Linked DNA regions of Homo sapiens: region 1 is linked to region 2. The links are contacts of gene promoters, found by promoter capture Hi-C in blood cells and fetal thymus (Javierre and others, 2016). All regions are on one chromosome and are shown on one strand. Each heading gives the region's core, a stretch centred on a gene start or on the middle of the fragment in contact. The rest is flanking DNA. Distances are from core to core; before and after follow the strand shown.

Region 1 (5,339 bases), core at 1,222-3,721, 260 kb before region 2:
GGATAAATAAACTGTGGCACATCCAGACAATGGAATATTATTTAGTGCTAGGATGAAATGAGCTCTCAAGCCATGAAAAGACGTAGAACATTAAATGCATATCACCAAGTGAGAGAAGCCAATTGGAAAAGGCTATGTACTGTGTGATTCCAACCATAAGACATCCCGGAAAAGGCAAAACTATAGAGACAGTAAAAATTATCAGTGCTCGTCAGGGGCTAAGGGGGAGGGAGGGAGAATGCAGAGCATAGCAGACTTTAGGGCAATGAGACTATTTTGTATGGTACCATAATTAATCTGTATGTTTAATAAAGAGCGTAAATCTGCAGGTTCTATTTATAAGATGTAAATGCTTATCGAGTTCTGAATGTGTAACATATTATATTACCTAGACCTCTTAGGAGGTGGAATATTTTGTAAGTCTTAAAAGCAAGTTGAAAAGAAAAAAAAGGTGATCAATTTAAAACCATCCTTGCCTGAATATTGACCAAACAACTTCAAACTGGATACAAGATGCAGGGGAAATACATCTCTAATGTAATATAAATTGTCTAAAAAATAAATGAATGTAGTATACTTCAGTAGTTGTTTTTACCTACTGTGTTCACACAAACGGGGCCATGAAAGACTCAACCTGCTTTGGAACTGCTGAGGCTGGGTTTCCCATCAGTTTATCATCTTCCAGCTAGAGGTGTTATCTTGCAAGCCACACATCCTTTCTGGGCCTCAGTTTCCTTCTGGCTACACCATGAGAGGTTTGTCTTAGTTGAAGTCTAACATCCCTTTCACTTGAATCCCTTTAGTGAGCCCTAGGGCCTGGCTCTTCTGAATCTGGTGGAAGCTAAAATGAGGCTTATCGCACAGCTCTCTTCCCTTGCCCCAGGCCTACTAACTCTATTTATTATCTCCACCTCCATTATCTCTAAATCTGAAGGCCGAAGGGAGAGCATCTTTTCATTAGTCTCCTGCTGATGCCTGAATCCCACCCCTAGAGATTCTGATGTAATTGGCCTGGGTGTAACTTGGGAGTCAGGAGTCTTAAGCTTCCCAGATGATTCTAATGTGTAGTCAAGGTTGAGGCTCACTGATGTAAAGTCTTATCAATGTTCCTAATGCATAGTAGGTTCTCAGTAACTGGGAAACAGGATTATGGGAGTTCAGTGCATGAAAGAATTTTAGGTAAACTGGAGGGAGAGATTCCTGGGGGCATTTCATGAAGGCAGTGGCATGTTACCCAGCCCTTAAAGAAAAGCAAAAAGATCTGGAAGCTGGAAAGCCTGGGCCATTGATGTGAGCTAATGTCCAAGTATGTGAATATTACATATATGTCTGTAGGTTTGTGCTTCTGTCCCGAAAGTGTTGAAGGTCTCAACTCTGATTGGATGATCATCCTCTGAGAGGATGTTACATGTATTATATGTTACATTATCTATTGCTATGTAACAAATTACCCCACATCTTTTGTCTTAAAATAATAATTATCTATTATCTTTCACCGTTTTTTTTTTTGAGATGGAGTTTTGTTCTTGTTGCCCAGGCTGGAGTGCAGTGGCATGGTCTTGGCCATGTGATTCTCCTGCCTCAGCCTCCCGAGTAGCTGGGATTACAGGCGCCCACCCCCACGCCTGGCTAATTTTTCTATTTTTAGTAGAGACGGAGTTTTGCCTTGTTGGCCAGGCTGGTTTTGAACTCTTGACCTCAGGTGACCCACCCACTTTGGCCCCCCAAAGTGTTGGGATTACAGGCGTGAGCCACTGTGCCCGGCCTTGTCTTTCGCTGTTTCTATAGGTCAAAAATACATGTGAGGCACAGAGGGATGGCTTATTTCTTCTCATCAGTATCTGTGGCCTCATCTGAAATACTTGGGGTTAGAATCATCTGTAGATTCATTTATTCTCATGTTGTCTTAGTTCATTTTGGGCTGCTATAACAATGCCATAAACTGGGTAGCTTATAAATAACAGAAATTTATTTCTCACAATTCTGGAGGCTGGGAAGTCTAAGATCAAGGCATTGGCAGATTTGATGTCTTGTGAGGGCCCTTTCCTGGATTGCAGACTGCTGACTTCTTGCTGTGTTCTCATATGGTGGAAGGGTAGGGCTAGCTCTCTAGGGTCTCTTCTATAAGGGACCTAATCCTAATCATAAGGGTGGAGACTAAAGGTCCCACCTCCTAATACTATCACATTGGGGGGCATTAGATTTCACCATAGGAATTTGGGGCAGACACAAACATTCAATATAGCACATGTCTGTGGCTGATGCTGGCTGTTGGGTGAGGGGCTAGCTGGGCCTGTGAGCTAGAACACTTAAATCTGGGCTTCCTTACAGTGTGGTAGCTGGGTTCCAATGCAAGCATCTTGAGAGATAGGGAACCAGGCAGAAGTGGTATCCTTCTTGTGACCTCATCTTGGAAGACTCATAGCATCATTTCCAGCTGATTTTATTGTTAGAAACGAGTCACTGAGTCCAGCCCATACTCAAGGGAAGGTGAATTTAGATTCTACCTTTTGAGGGGAGGAATGTATAATAATTTGCAGATTTTTTTTTTTTTTTTGAGACGGAGTCTTTGTCGCCCAGGCCGGAGTGCAGTGGCAGGATCTCAGCTCACTGCAACCTCCGCCTCCTGGGTTCAAGTGATTCTCCTGCCTCAGCCTCCTGAGTAGATGGGATTATAGGTGTGTGCCACCATGCCCGGCTAATTTTTGTATTTTTAGTAGAGATGGGATTTCACCATGTTGGTCAGGCTGGTCTGGAACTCCTGACCTCGTGATCTGCCCACCTCGGCCTCCCAAAGTGCTGGGATTACAGGTGTGAGCCACCGCACCTGGCCTAATTTTTTGTATTTTTAGTAGAGACACGGTTTCACCAATTGGCCAGGCTGATTTCAAACTCCTGACCTCATGATCCACCCACCTTGGCCTCCCAAAGTGCTGGGATTACAGGCGTGAGCCACTGCACCTGGCCAGCAGATTTTTTTTTTTTTTTTTTTTTTTTTTTGAGATAGAGTCTTGTTCTGTCACCAGGCTGGAGTGCAGTGGCGCTGTCTCACCTCACTGCAACCTCTGCCTCCTGGGTTCAAGTGATTCTCCTGCCTTAGCCTCCCGAATAGCTGGGACTACAGGTGCGTGCCACCATACCCAGCTAATTTTTGTATTTTTAGTAGAGATGGGATTTCACTATGTTGGCCAGGCTGGGCTCGATCTCTGGACCTCGTGATCCATCCGCCTTGGCCTCCCAAAGTGCTGGGATTACAGGCGTGAGCCACTGCGCGCAGCCCAGATTGTATTTTTTAAACGACCTCACTTCATAAAGTCCTAGTTGCTATTATGGCTTGACTTTGGAATATGAAGATATGACTTCAAGTCTCATTACTATTTTTTCCTAGCAGCATTGGGTGAATCAGTTAATCTCTAACACCTTGTCATCTTCTTTAATGTTGTAGAAGGAGAGAAGAGTACTCACCTCAGAAGATTAATAAGGGACAAATGAGCATCATGTATGTGAATATATTTTGCTAACTATAAACAAATGCACATTATTAAAAATAATGAACATATATAACTGCATTATTTGTATAACTAAAAATACTTTCTAAAGAAGAGAACTTTGTAGTATATAGTATTGGCTGGGGAGAGGGCAGAGGTTGGGTTGTTTTCATAATTAGCTATATTCTATTGTATTTTGTAGTCAGTTCCATACAGTAGTAAGACTCCCTCAGCCTTAGGGAGTAGGATAAGCAGTCAGATTAGCCAGGTGGGTATGAGGCAAGAGGAAGTGGCCAGTCCAGCACGGAGCCAGAGAAAAGGCAGGATAGGCAGGAATTAGGTAAAATCCCTGGTGTTGTGGGTTAAGGTTGGGCCATAGGGAGCCAAGGAGAAGCTCTGACAAAAGCTTCAGGAGCCTTCACCAATTGTTCCATTAATGAATAGACAACACTCTGATAATATATATTTTTTTCACTAAGTGACTGATTTTATCCTGGGATACGTTTACAAAATTCTAGGTGGTTTTAGTAGGAGAGATGACAAATTGTTTTCCACCTGTGGGTTTTGCTTCATGCCAGCCTTGCTTGGTTTTGCCTGGCTTTATTCTGTGAACAGAAAGGAGGTTGGAATTCTGAAAAGTTGCTTTAGCCAAATCCTGTGAACAAAGGAGGCCTTGTTCAGGGTTATGCACGTCAGCTTTTGGAGGAATTTAATTCATCGACTCAGATCTCTGCTTTTCAAGTTGTTGCTCTAGCTAGCATTGTGTTTCTCTGTGTCTGTGATGGAGCAAGTCTTATGTAGGAGCAGGCACTGCTAGTTTACCTTGCTGAGGCCTGTGCCCAGCTCTAGTTACATCAATGAGTTCAGCCTGGGCAGATCCAGGCCCTAGCAGTCCTAAATGGACACCAGCAATGAACCAAAAAGAGGGAGGCACATTTTATTAATGTGCTTGGCTCATTCATGGCCACATGGATGCTGTACTGACACAAAATTCAGGAATTGGGAATGATAGCTTCGTTCCTGTTAGTTGCCTCCCCACCTGCAACTGAAATTTCCTGAAATGTTACCAGTGTTGACTAGTTTGGATCTTGGACTACTAGGAGTGAGGCTGGGAGCACATATACTGGTCCTGAAACCTGCTCTCTGATGGTAGGTTTATTTCCCCTGGAGATGGGTAACATTGAGCCCTGAAAGGTGGTTTGAAAAAGTTACTGTTTTGATATGCTAAATGTCATTCTAGACCCTGGGAAGACTTGTGAGAAATTTCTTAGGGCCTGGGGGATTCCAGCTCCATGTGTGGAGAAGTTGTATGCCGTATATGTTGCCCCGTAATGCTGGGCAACCGATGGCATTATGCTACCAGTGTGAGCGTGTGGCTGCCGTTTTCTTCATTTTTGTCTCATTCTGTTTCCCTTGACAGGGCAATTTGGTTTTGATGCTGTGCCAGAAATCTTCTGACAATGAGTTACTGGAACTTGGAAAAAAGGAACTGTGTGCAGTACCGCAGGCATTTTCTGGTGGACAACAGTGTGTTTCATGGTAAGCTGTCTCTTGTATTTATGTAGTTGGATCTTTTATTTTGTTTCTGACAGGACTTTTATTCTAGCACTCTAGATGCAAATATGGTATAATTGTTGGATGGAACCAAGAGCTTGAGTTAACTTGTTTATGAATAATTACCCAAGAAGTCCCATTGCACTTACTATCTCCACTTGTAAGGAATGGGCCCCACCTCAACGACTATAATAGTGTTATCTCTTTCTATTTCGTAGGGTAGTTGGTACCAGTGCCTTTCCTCTTCTACCACACTGTCAACTCCAGTAATATCCCTTTCTGATGTTTGTAATTATT
Region 2 (5,787 bases), core at 2,151-4,650:
ATCTCCACTTGATAACCCTAACTAACAGTGCTCTTTTTACTACTGAAGATAGAGTCATTAGTGTCTTTAAATCCAATCAGATTAGACTCTCAATTCTAGAAGCCCCAGAACCAATTACTCCTGATAACAAAATCATCTATGTTAACCAGGGTTCTCCAAAGAAACAGGGTGATATGGTTTGGCTCTGTGTCCCCACCCAAATCTCACCTTGAATTATACTCCCATAATTCCCATGTGTTGTGGGAGGGACCCAGTGGGAGATAATTTGAAGCATGGGGCAATTCCCCCATACTGTTCTCATGGTAGTGAATAAGTCTTACGAGATTGATGGTTTTATCAAGGATTTTTGCTTTTGCATCTTCCTCATTTTCTCTTGCTGCCACCGTGTAAGAAGTGCCTTTCTCCTCCTATCATGATTCTGAGGCCTCCCCAGTCATGTGGAACTTGTAAGTCCGATTAAACCTCTTTTTCTTCCCAGTCTTGGGTATGTCTTTATCAGCAACATGAAAACAGACTAATACATAGGGCCAGTAGGAGATAGAGAGAGAGAATGTATGTGTGTGTGAGAGAGAGACAGAGAGAGAGGGATTGAGAGAGATTTATTATAAGGAATGGGCTGATGTGATTATGGGGACTGAGAAGTCCCGGCAGAAGAGCTGATGGTACATACATTCCAGTTTGAGTAGGAAGGCCTGAGAAGCAAGTGAGCTGATAGTGTTGGTTCCAGTCTGACAGTGAAGGTCTGAGAACCAGGAAAGCCAATGATGTAAGATTCAGTCTGAATTTAGGCCCAAAAGCAGAAGACTTCTGTCACAGTTTGAAGACAGGAAGAGAGAAAACATTCTTTCTCACTTATATTAGGTTGGTGCAAAAGTATTTTGCCATTACTTTTAATGGCAAAAACCATGATTACTTTGCACCAACAGAATACTTTTAGTCCATTCAGGCCTCCAAAAAATGGAAAGAGGCCCGCACACATTGCAGATGGAAATCTGCTTTATTCAGTTTACTAATTCAAATGTTAACCTCATCAAGAAATACCCACATAGACATTCCCATAAGTAATGTTTAGCTAAATATCTGGGCACTACATGGCCCTGTTAAGTTGACACATAAAATGAACCATCACACCTTCTAAACACATCAAATCAGGAGGCACATAATGACATTTTGTCTAATTACTAGTGATGTTAACTTAGATCACTTGGATAAGGCAGTCTTTCAAATTTTCTTCACTTAACATTATTTTCCTCTTTGTATTTGGTAAATTTCTCGTGGCAAGATAATTGAGACCATGTAAATATCCTGTTTTTCATCACACCCTTACCTATTAATGATTCTTGATTGAGGTAATTATTACTGTAATGTTATCAAATGATGATTTTATATTTCTGTTATTTCTTCTATATTTATTAATTTGAATTCTCTTATTTATTTCTTGAATGATTGGTATCAGTATGGACTCATCAATATATATTTTTTATTTTGGGGGTTATAGTCCATTATTCTCATTATTAATTTTGTTACTCAACTTGTCATAGATTTGGGCATTAGGGGATCTTCTTTAAATCATATTTAAACAGCTTTGCTGTATGAATCCTCATGGTTAGGTATGTAAGGTTTGTATAAATAAACAAATTTTCTCTATTATTATAGCAATCCAGGTTTCTTCGCATAGAAATGCCTTAAAAAGTTTTTTTATCTTAAAAATGTTTAATTAAAAGTACTACACTAGATAATGGAAACTTAGTAACCACCCCAGATAAAAACAAAACAAAATAAAACAACAACAACCACAATGACCCGTCCCACCACTACCAAGTTATTTTACCCTTCCAGATCAATAATTGTTCATGGGCATTGTATTGAAATGCTGTAAAGACATTTTCACTGGCTAGAGACACTATTTCAAATGAAATATAAAGAAACATGAAAACATTGACATTTTAAAGTGACTCCTATGGATTTGATTTCGTGAATAATTAAAATATAGCATTTAGTGCTCTTATACATTTTATAACTCATTCATTTATATCAGTCTTTATATCTGAAAGAGGTTTAATGTGTTGTTTAAATTCATTGTTTTCTTTTACTGCAAGCCACAGGAAGAAATTCTAGCTATTTCATCCCAAAAGGAATGTATTGAAGGGATATAAGGTAACTAATAGAATGGAAGAGAAACCAAAAATCTGGCTCAGAAAAGAAGTATCAAAAAGAACTGCAGGAATCCATAAAGAAGGAACTAACAAGCAGACCCTTTGAAAAGCGTCTATCTCCCTAAAGATAGTCTTTGTGGGATTCTGTTCAAGATCCAAATATTAAAGACAGAGCAAGTAATCTAACTTAACTGCCAGTCCCAAAAAGATTGGTTCCCCTTGGAGAGAATGACGTCTTGGTTTGGGTTCCCCCAGAGCAGACTCTGAAACAAGGTTTCAAGAACAAGTGGTTTATTTTGGATATGATCCTAGAAAACCTCAGTAGGGGAGTGGAGAAGAGAGGCAGGGAAGGAAGAGAAGCCAATAAAGGATGTGTTATCAAAGCAGTTCCCACAATGAGCAATTGGAGCTTTATTCCACAGGGAGACAATCTAGAACACACATCAGAGTTATCTCAACCCAGAAGTGAGGAAGCTAGGATATTTTTCAACATTATCTATTATTTACACAATTTGCTGGGGGCTTCTGGGCATTAACTCCTGGGCACTTTTGGCTTGTCCTGTGTGTGAGATGAGTGTTCTATTGCAACCAGACGAAAGTTCTCAAGCAGAGACACAGGAGTTTGCAGTGACAGCAATCTTCTGTGAGTAGAAGCAAGTGCTGAGAAGACATGGGCAGAGCATGGCCATGTCTGCTGCAGTGGTTTCCTTAAGTAAGATTGGGATGCTGTTTCTAGAAAGAGATTGGCATCTTGGCAAGCAAAAGTAGTCGATATTTATTTTGCCATGAAGGCAAATGTCTCATTTTACAGGAAAGTTGTTTTCATGTCAAATGCTGTGTATAGTATGAATTAGGATGTTTTCAGCTACATGGAGGAGCCTACCAATTATAAATGGCTTAAAAGAATACAGATTGTATCAGGCATGATAAACTACTTTATGCTATGGTAACAAACAACCCCCACCAGTGGCTTAACACAACAGAAGTTAATTTCTTACTCACACAAAGTAACAAAGTTGGCTGAGGGTTCAGGCAGCTCGTCACAGCAGCTGTTTTTCAGGCATTGGCTCTTCCTTCCAGGCTGTTTGATCTTATGACACCTCCGTAAATATACATGCTCCCACGATTACTACTGCAGGGGAAGAGCAGGTAGAGAGTCAAACACGAGATAGCACACGACGCTTCTGGCAACATTTCATTTCATCTACCGAGTCATGGAGCCATGCTTTGGTGGAGAAATGCTGTGTCCCTGTGTGTCCAGGAGTAGAGAAGAACAGGATATCGGTAACTACAGGGAATAACTACTGCAAGGTTTGGAGGGAGATAAGTCCAGGGGTGTTTCAGTGGCTTGAGTGCCATCCCTTACTTGCTAAGGACATCTTTTTGTCACATAATGACTCCAGTAGCTCCAAATACCACTTCTTCTCACATCAATATTCATAGGCAGGAAGAGAGGGTTGGGGTCTCTCTGCCTCTTTTTTCTAATCAGGTGCTGTGGAGCTTCTCTTCTCCCACCCTGACTCTTTATCAAGGAAGAGAATCTTTCCTAAGAGCCTCTCAATAGACTTCCAATTATGCTTCACTAGTCAGAACTGGGTCATATGCCTACCTCTAGCTGCAAGGGGGCATCTGACATTTGCAGCCTCACTCATGAAAGTCAGGTTCTGTCAGCTTAGAAAAAGGGGTAGGAGAATGGCTGCTGTGTTCAGAATCAGCAATCAATACCACGTGTCTGCCACACACAGCAACAATATTCTCACTGTCCATGTATAGGATTATAAAACATGTGCCCCAAATCACTATGCTGTTGAAACACAACTCACTGAATCCCCACCATGTGGGAGTCTGAATCACAATCACCGACGGCAGAGTTGTATTTAATCACAACATACCAATTCCTGAGGAAATAGAGTATTTCTTGAAATCCAATATCAAGCAACTTCCTGGGAACATCTATTTGAAGGATCAGATGAGAAATCGTGGCTCTTATGTAACAATTCATAACAATTTAAGAGAAGTTTCTGTTATACAGAGTTTTCCAGAACTCATAATCAAAACGGTAGACTACAAATAAGTAGAAGGCTGGAGATTGACCAAGAAAATTTTCCCTCCTGAAAGATAAACTACAACTTGGCTTATTTTTCAAAGAATCAACTTCTCAGACTCTAGGCAGATAAATGAACACAAAATAACTTACTACTGTGTATTTTAGAATCATACACATTATCTGAGACTTTAATAACAGTTAAACAGATGGTAGATGGTAGCAGAGATGCCTGTTTCAAATGACAGTGGTCTAACAGCTCTCAGTTAAATTGCTTGTGACAGCAAAAGGAAAAAAAGACTTGCAATGCTATCAAAAGCTAAAACTTAAAAATAATTATAATAAACTGGAAAGAAATTTACTAAGTGGTGCTAGACTGAGGAAAAAAAATTCTATTCCATCTTTTACTCCGGAAACAAAGACAGCCTGAAAACAGTAGGAATATACTTTGTATCCCCTCTGTCTGCCTTAGGGAGCCAGAGTCTGCCTCAACCAAAAAAGGACACCTGCTTATTTAGGAAATGCTTTGAGATTCAATTTCACTTCCACTGAATCACTTCCTAGCTTCCACTAAGCCAGAAATTAAAGTGGGAACTCAGAGCCAGCTGAGCCATGATCCAGGAGGAGGTATCTTCCTACTGCCAGACATCCCATCTGAAAGGCCACCAACCAAATCACAAATCTAGGTGACTAAATTGCTTGATGTAACTGCTAAATACTGATGCATCATCCACAGCTTTCCAGAGCAGATACTGATGCACATTAATTTACAAATTTCAGACTATGGAGATGCTAATAATTGTGTCCATTAGGTTAACCCAGGAAAAACAGGCAAGATGGAAGCTGGGGTTGGGGAACCCAGACATAGAGATGTGGGGATAGAAATGGGGGTTGTTCTTTAGGAATCAGGTAAGCTGGACTGTTAGTTTCTCAGATTTGTACCTCATGTTCCAGACACGTCTATGCCTGCTGCATGTTCAAAGGGATCAAACCCTTTTGTATATTGAGACTGAAATATTCAGAGTGGAGGAATAGGCTGGGAGATCACCTAGGATACATTTCTGAAAGTAGACATTAAGTTCAATAATGGCAGTGTAGAAGGATATTAGTCACCTATACCCAAAACTGATAGTGGATATTAACAAGCTACCTTACTTATTACTGAGTATGACACATTCTCTTGGGTATCTCCCCTTTCCCCCCAGTTTCATCTTCTAAAGTTGACTTGATTCAGGTACTCAAGGCCCAGGTGAGCTCACCCTTCTTCAATAGGTTAGGTGACTAAATGCTTCAGAGTTTTCTGCAAAATAAAAAGGAACAATGAGAGAAGAAAAGCTCAGGTTGCCTCTCAGCATTGATTGTTCACATTGGGTTTTATTTAGGGAAATCTCCAGAATTATCTTCATGTTTATATATGAAAATAAAAGAGTATTTAGACCTTTATAAAAAGATAGTACCTTCCTAAGACTGGATTTTGGATAAAAAAACAGTATTTAGGTTGTATCAAGCTTTGAAAACTGAAAACAAAAAAAGTGATTGTAGTTTCTTAAATAGACTCTGGGCCTGAGAGGCAGATGTGATTCTGAA

Evidence for each region. Contacts are between HindIII fragments. The CHiCAGO score rates a contact against its expected background, and 5 or more counts as called.
Region 1: a contact is called between a fragment that was not itself captured here and the fragment with the promoter of PLCH1-AS1 in region 2, in 1 of 17 cell types (megakaryocytes). The highest score is 6.4, in megakaryocytes.

Annotation. Positions count from the first base shown.
Region 1 is chr3:155,703,834-155,709,172 of GRCh38, reverse strand. PLCH1 (phospholipase C eta 1) reads left to right here. Exons shown (of 23, transcript NM_014996.4): 2 at 4,909-5,027. The coding sequence starts at 4,949. Among named protein-coding and RNA genes, the nearest start is that of PLCH1, 39 kb to the left of the region's middle. The HindIII fragment of the contact is 2,851 bases long and covers 1,046-3,896 here.
Region 2 is chr3:155,446,797-155,452,583 of GRCh38, reverse strand. PLCH1-AS1 (PLCH1 antisense RNA 1) reads right to left here and starts at 3,400. Exons shown (of 2, transcript NR_046746.1): 1 at 3,159-3,400. It also overlaps a transcript of PLCH1 not described here. The HindIII fragment of the contact is 6,189 bases long and covers 1-5,710 here.